2 separate regions of the Homo sapiens genome follow, and region 2 is linked to region 1. Evidence: promoter capture Hi-C in 16 types of primary human blood cells and fetal thymus (Javierre and others, 2016). All regions are on one chromosome and are shown on one strand. Each heading gives the region's core, a stretch centred on a gene start or on the middle of the fragment in contact. The rest is flanking DNA. Distances are from core to core; before and after follow the strand shown. Region 1 holds the start of HMX1 (H6 family homeobox 1). Region 2 has its middle 3.0 kb from the start of GPR78.

Region 1 (3,981 bases), core at 336-2,835:
GGGGTTGGACTGGCTTTCCTGGCCTTCCTCCCAGGGGTCTTCCTAAAGGGCAGGTACAAAAGGGAGGCAGCGACCCTGGAACCCTGGGGAGGGGAAGCAGAACTAAGGGGTCAGATACCCAAGCAAGGGGGCAAAGGGGTTCTGGGGTTGAGAACCCCCAGCCCCAGTCTCAAGCCCTCAGCAGGGAACAAAGGCAAGGAGGGGGAGGGGCAGAAAAAGAAGAGAGAGGGGTTGGACTGGGGGCCTCAGAACAGGCTCCCTTCTTGCCTGGCACAGCCCATGCCCCTCAAGGACCAAGAGGGAGACCCAGGCCCCTGCCCCAGGCTGTCTGCAGCGGGCACAGAGGAAACAGGACTCTGGGGGGGCACAGCTGCCATGTTAGATGGCTCCCCTCCCCGGCCCCACCCCCACAACACTGCACCCTCTGCTCAATGCCCCCTTTTATTTTTCCACGTCTGATGCTACTTTGTCTCCCTTTCCCTCCATCTCTTCCTCCTCTTTTCTCTCTCGGATCACTCTTGGGTTTCTTTTTCCTGCATCTTCCCCTCCCCCCACCCCATTCTCTCTCCCGCAGCACATTCCTTTCTTCCTCCATCCTCCCATTTTCTTTCTCAGCCTCTTTCGCCTTCTCCTGTATCTTTCCCTATCCTCTTTCACTCTCCTTTCTTTTTTCTTTGGCCTCCTGTTGTCCCCTGTCCCCAGCCTCCCTGGGACCGGAGGAGCCCGGCAATGGGTGAAGCTATGGCCTGCAAAACCTCCTCGTTAGCGGAGCTCCTGCCCCAGAGGGTGGGCCTCCAAACCAGCCCAACCAGGGGCTCCTGGGGGCCCCACAAGGCCCAGACGCCGTTCCACAGAAGGGAGAGGATGGCCCAGAACGGGCGGCGACGAGCCCGAAGTCCCCCAGCAAATGCGCAGGGAGGAAGTCGGGCCCCACCGCCTGACCCACCCTCCCCGCGCCCTCACTCACTGTCAGGACTGAGGCCGCCTCCATAGCCACCGTGCGCCCGTGGGTACCAGCGCGCTGCGCCTCCGCAGCCCAGAGCGAAGGGCGGCCCGGGACCGGGGGGCGGCCGAGGACCGAGGCCCAGCGCGCCCGGCCCGAGCAGCGCACGGGCCCGCGCCTCCCCGCCGGGCCCGGTGCCCGCGAGCAACTGTCGCCGCCGCTGTAGCCGTCGCCGCCGCGCCTGCTCGGCGTCCTCGTCTTCGGGGTCGTCGTCGTCCTCCTCCTCGTCCTCCCGGCTGCCGTCGCCCTGGGTCGCGCGCCCTGCGCCCTTGGCCTCGGCCGCCAGCAGGTTCTCGATGAGGAAGGAGGAGGCGCGGGCCGGCGTGGCGCGCCCGGGCTCCGTCAGCTCGTCAGGCATCGCGGCCGCGGGCTTCTCGGGCTCGGCCGGGCTCCTCGGTCCCCGCTGGGGATGGTGGCGCGCGGCTCCCGGGCGCACGCGCGGGCCGGCCCTGGAGCTGCTACCCGGACCGCTGGCGTCGGGCCCCGCAGGGCAGGCGGCGGCCTCCGCGCCGGGCTGGGCTGGGCCGGGCCGGGAGCGAGTGCGCGCCGACAGCTGATCGGGCAGCCGCCTGGCTCGCCTTTCAGGTCGCCGTTCTGGTCGCCGCCGGGGCGGCCTCACTGGGGGCGGGGAGGGGGAGGGGCCAGCAGGGGCGGGGGGTCGCGGGCTGGGCCGGGAGGGCGGCCCGCTGAGCCCCGAGGACGCTGCGCCGGCCCCGAGCGCGGCCGCTGCCGGGAGACGCTGCCCAGACCTGAGCGCGCGGGCAGCGGCGCAGCCGAGGGCGGGCGGCCCCGGGCGCAGGCGGGGGGTCGCGCCGGGTCCGATCCCGCGTGATCAGTTCCCCCGTCCCGCGCCACCCGCTCCGTGGGGGCGGGGCCTGGGCTGAGCGGCCACCCATTGGCTGTGGGGCCCCGATGAGGAACGGGCTGGCCAATCACCGTCCGGCCAGAGCCGTAATTACCCCGCTGCGAGGAGGGTGTTGGACCGACCGTGAGTAACTGTGTGTGTGCGCGCGCGTGGTGTGTGCACGAGTGTGCGTTTGAATGGCTGTGTGTGTGTGGAGGGCGGCGTGGAGACCCCGGGGCTCCCAAGAAACTGCAAGAGGCTGGGCCACATTTTTTTATTTAAGACTTTGTGTGTAATTTAAAAATGGGAACACTGCCAAAACAGGACTGCGAAATGTGGCATATCTTAATATTTGCACTTAAGGAAAGATGCTTTCAATGCCAACTGTAGTTCGGTAGAACTCTTCAGTTCCCGGGCTCGGTACCAGTATGTAAGGAAGTGCAACCACAGGGCTCCGCTGGCAGCCCGCTCGATGTTACCAAGCAGGTCTTCACCGCGCCAGCACCCCCACCGCCCGCTCCAGGGGAAGCCAGGGCCTTAGAAGGGGGTGGGAGCTTTTGGCCCAGCCTCTGCCCTGGGCGAAGGTCTTGGGGGCAGGCCCCTTCCCTCGTTGTGCCTCCGTTTCTTCGCTCTAAAGGGGTGGGGAGGTCCTCCCATATCTGCAGCGGGAAGTTCGGGAACATAACGCACCCTGGAGCTGTCTCCGTTCCGGCGTCGACTTCAGACTTACCTACATTAGGTCACTGCGCGGACGCGCGGGTTAAGCCGGCTTCACCCGATGCGAGTTATTTCGCAGAGATACATCCATCCTCCCAGGGCCAGCCCCGGGCCCCTCTCCACCCGAGTACCGCCCGCGTTCCCGGAGGTGACCGCAGGCCTGGGGCTTCCGCTTTGTTTAATTCTTCCAAAAAAGCACGGTGGAGGGAGCATCGCCCCCATTTTTCAGCGGAGAAAACTGACGGGAGAAGAGAGAAGAGACTCCCCCAGAGGGTAGGTGGCTCCGGCAAGCCTGGAATTCCTTCACTGATGCCCCGGAGTCCGGCTGGTTGGCAGGGCGGTGGGGCTCCAGGAGCGGCTGAGGCCTAGCCAGCTGGGCCCTCGCGGCCTGGGTTCGCAGAGACAAAATGGTGCGCCTCTTGGGAGCGTGTCCTGGGTGCGCTTTCTGGCGGCTGCCAGGAAGGACCTCTAGTGCTCAGTGGCTGCCGCGATCTCGAGTGGGAGGACTTTTCCAGGGACTCTAGGACAAGATGCTCAGCCCATCTCCTTTTCCCCGGCATCCTAGCCCAAGAGGGGCAAAAATAATCAATGACAGGGACTCCCCGGGTTGTTTAGCCTGGAGGCAGCCCACAGATGGGGGCTCCTCCCTCCATGTTGTTGATGAGGCCACTAAGCCAAAGTGGAGAGAGTTGGGATCTTAGGGAGGAGCTGAGGTCTCCCAAGCCCTGCTCCCTGGGATGTCCAGGGTCAGAGAGACTCCAAGGAGCAGAGGTACCCCAGCCAGAGGGGGCTGGGCCAAGGAAATTGGGACAGAGCGCCCGATTCGATTAGTTTGGAGCGCTAGCCTTGGGGCAGACACCGTCTACACTAGGGCGCTTTTGACAGATAAGGAAACTGAGGCCAGAGAGGGGCCAGATAAAAAGACAATGTCTGTGGGGAGAAGTGTTTTTCTGATAGCCGTCCAGTTCACACAGGCTCCCCTGGGTCTGTCTGTGAGAGGCGCCTGGACACTCCTGCCCCGTCCAGCCACGCGCCTGCCCAGGTTGGTGGCATTTCCATTTCTCCCTCAGGCCTGGCGGGCTTCCTCTGAGTCTGAGTTCTAATTCCCTCCGCTCTAGGGTTGTGTGGCCCTGGAGGAGGCGTCTTGTGTCTCTGATCCTATAACTGCGGACGATACGCGTCCCTGACGGTGCCAGGTTGTTGGGAGTAGAGGCTGGCCACCACCAGGCGGGTGGTGGCCCTGAGCGCATAACGCTCGCGGGTGTCTTCCCACTGCCTCTGGGGGGCGCGCATGAGAGGGGCGCTTCCACACACTGCCGCGTGGGGCCTGGGATGGGAGCGAAGAGGGGCGGTGGATCCGAAGCGAGGACCGTGCACCCTTTTCCTCTGGGCGCCCGCTGTCTGGGGGTTGCGGAGA
Region 2 (3,617 bases), core at 801-3,300, 290 kb before region 1:
GGTCAGGTGCCACCCAAGGGTCCCCCAGAGCCTGGAGCCTCCCTCAGCCTCAGTCATACCTGGAGGAGTCATGCCCAGTTTCTGGCCTGCCCTTGGCCCCCGGCCCGTGAACTCCCAGAAGACAGGGACAGATCTTATTTGCCCTGTAGTCACAGGTCCCAGCTCCATGGCACTGAGGGACCCTTCCGTGTTTCATTGAGGAATTAGTGGGAATGTGTTGCTGCTGAGGGCATGTGTGATTTCTAAGTGTGTGGATAATATTGCCAGCTGTAATACTTTCCTACCTCTCTGCTATTCTAAGGAATTCCATGCTCATGATCTCTCTCTCTCTCTCTCTCTCCCCCTCCCTCTCCCTCCCTCCCTCCCTCCCCCTCTCTCTCCCTCCCCCTCTCTCTCCCTCTCTCTCCCTCTCTCTCCCTCTCTCTCCCTCTCTCTCCCTCTCTCCCCCTCTCTCCCTTCCTCCCTCCCTCCCTCTCTCCCTCCCTCCCTCCCTCTCTCCCTCCCTCCCCTTTTCTCTCTCTCCTTTTCTCTGTCTCTCTCTTCCCTCCACATTTCCTCCCTCCTCCTGGAAAGATAATTTCTACTGGGATTTTACAAAACTAAGATGCTCCAAGGCAGGAAAACAAAATTAAATCCAGTCATGATGGTGAGGCCTCCAGATGGAGTGCTTGATCTAGGCTTTTCTTCCTGAGTGATTTTCTGATTTTCAAAGCATTTCGTGCTCTCACAGAAAATGTAAAAGTGACAGGAAAGTGTAAAGACACAGAAAAACAACCAACCACTCCTAGCTCCATCAGCCATTGGTGACCATGACTGGTGGCCTGGCATCAGGATCCGGTGCTTCTATACCTTGTTCAGAGGTCCCAGTGTTCTCAGTGGTTTCCGCTAAACAATCCACAGTGGGATTTTTCCTTGGGACATCTGCTTTTCTTTCTCTCTCGCTCTTTCTCCCTCCCTCCCTCCCTCCCTCTCTCCCTCTCTCCTTTTTGTCTTGTCTTTTCTCTTTTCTTTTCTTTCTTAGATGGAATCTCGCTCTGTTGCCCAGGCTGGAGTACAGTGGCACGATCTCAGCTCACTGCAAACTCCATCTCCTGGATTCAAGTGATTCTCCTGTCAGCCTCCTGAGTGGCTGGGATTACAGGTGCACACCACCATGCCTGGCTAATTTTTGTATTTTATTTATTTATTTATTTATTTATTTATTTATTTATTTATTTTTAGTACAGATGGGGTTTCACTATATTGGTCAGGCTGGTCTCAAACTCCTGATCCACATGCCTTGGGCTCCCAAAGTGCTGGGATTCCAGGCATGAGCCACCATGCTGGGCTGACACCTGCTTTTTAATGGCCGCACAGGACTATGCTGTAGGGGAATAGAATCACGCACTTGCCGCCTTCCCGTTTTTGGAAGTTTCATTCATTTCCCTGTCTTTCCACCTTCCTCCTTTCTCTTTTCCGCCTGTCTATGAGCAATCATTTTTGTTAACATGCCAGATTGTTCCTTCCAGTTGCTTTCCTGCAGTCAGGGCTTGATAGCTGTGGGCTCCCCCAGCCCCTCCAAGGCTTCTAAGTGACCATGTGCGTGCAGCTCTGGGGAGTGGTGGAGGTGTCAGGAGGTTTCACAAGGGGACTTTGGTGTAGCCACTCACAGCGGCCCCTGTCACCTCTCAATGACTCCAGGGGGAGACGATTTCACTTGCAGGGGAGCAGAGAGCATCTCTTCTGAGACATGAGCGCAGGGAAGCTTCGCCAGCCTGTATTACGGAAAGGCAGGCCATTCACTCATCTGCAAGGATGTACTGGGCACCCAGCGTGTACAAGAGAATGTGCTGGATACAGCAGACTGTGGTGATCACACAAGGCTTGATTTCTTCACTTTGTTGAGCAGAGAGAAGACGTGGACAAAGTCAGATCTGATCAATACAACCACCCTGGCCCCCCAGGAGAAACAGCAAGCTTATTTTGTGAGATAAGTGAATTGTATCAATTACATCATATTGCAGTGCTATCACTGATGACAAATTCATTTCCACAGATATACACCGACAGCTTGTTACATGCAACTGGGGAGGAAAAATGAGAAAAGCGGGAAAAGAACAATGGTTAACTGAGCTCATTTGATTTTATTTAAACTTGCTTTAGTACTAAGCTTATTTCTTTTACACCTATTGAATGTAACCTTATTTAATTCTTACCCCACCCCTCGAAGATGGGTCTTCCTGCCCCTATTTTTCAGATAAGGAAACAATTAAGCCATTCACTTTAATTAAGCAGCAGTGGCATCTCAGCCTCTGCACTTCATCTCAGCCCAGCACTTCTGTTGGGGCTGAGATGGAAGTCTCGGAAGGTGCTCTGAGGAGGTGTGACTCTCCCTGGCTGACAGGGGAAGGCTTAGCAGAGCTTTGTCTTAGAGGAGTAGATGAAAAGGAAAGTACAGAGAGGGCATTCAGGCCAAGTCAGCAACACAGACAAAGTCAGGTAATGTGGGTTAAGTGCATGGGTGATGAGTAAAGGGGATGTGGCTAGATGGTGTGAGTGTGTGTGTGCTTGCATGTGTGCCTGTGTGCGTGTGTGTGCATGTGTGTGTCTGTGTGTGAGTGACAGCAACAGCAAAGGGCCCGTCATGAGTGGCTAAGACCAGATGTAGGTAGACTTGGAGGGGCTGCTAAGGAATTTCATAGGCAATGGGGAACCATGAACTATCACTAGGCAGGGGAGGAGCCTTCGGGAACTAATCCTGAACTTTATCATTGCAATGCGTATCTCAGCAAGAATGGGCAGGATTGCATAGTTAGGAGTACTGCCTTACTTTTTAAAGAAGTGGTGAAAATATTTAATATTTTCATATACTTTTTCTTTTTGGAAGATAAAAGGATTAGGTCCAGCATTTCACCCTACAGAGGATTTAAATTTTTCATCAGGAATGAGATTTGAGTGTAAGAAGATGAAACGATATTATACTGATAAGACCACAGGGTTCAAAACCACCCCCTACAACCCAGGGAAGGGGGGCAGCCAGGCTGGCAAGATCTGAGGCCAGAAGCACTGGGGCTTTGGGGAGAGCAGCAAACAGAACAGATCTAGACCTATCAAGGTGCCCTCACCAGAGTCCAGAGATCTCACCACACACATTTTCTCATTCATGCAGTTGTCCAGTACATCCTTGCAGATGAGCAAATGGCCTGCCTTTCATAATACAGGCTGGTGGAGCTTCCCCATGCTCATGTCTCAGAAGAGATGCTCTCTGCTCCCCTGCAAGTGGAATTGTCTCCCTTTGGAGTAGTTGAGAGGTGACAGAGGCTGCTGTGAGTGGCTAGACCAAAGTCTCCCTGTGAAGCCACGTGATGACTCCACCGCTCCCCAGAGCTGCACATGGTCGCTCAGAAGCCTTGGAGGGGTTGGGGGAGGCCCCTGCTCTCAAGCCCCCACTATCACAATCACTTTGTCCCAGCTATTCACCTGCAAACTTGCTTGATCTGCAGAAGCTGCAGAGTGGCCCACTCTTCCTGGACATGTCAGGAAAACTTTGACGTGGCTGCTCTAGCTTCAGGGAAGGTCTAATTTGGTGAAAATTTGAAAGCAGGTTTGTGGGAGTGCCAGGGAGAAATGGGGAGAGA

The links. Contacts are between HindIII fragments. The CHiCAGO score rates a contact against its expected background, and 5 or more counts as called.
Region 2: a fragment that was not itself captured here is called in contact with the fragment with the promoter of HMX1 in region 1 in 1 of 17 cell types (M1 macrophages); the score reaches 5.2 in M1 macrophages.

What each region holds. Positions count from the first base shown.
Region 1 is chr4:8,870,254-8,874,234 of GRCh38, forward strand. It overlaps HMX1 (H6 family homeobox 1), which reads right to left and starts at 1,586. Exons shown (of 2, transcript NM_018942.3): 1 at 968-1,586. The coding sequence starts at 1,361. The HindIII fragment of the contact is 19,285 bases long and covers 1-3,981 here.
Region 2 is chr4:8,575,597-8,579,213 of GRCh38, forward strand. No RefSeq gene overlaps it. Among named protein-coding and RNA genes, the nearest start is that of GPR78, 3.0 kb to the right of the region's middle. The HindIII fragment of the contact is 193 bases long and covers 1,955-2,147 here.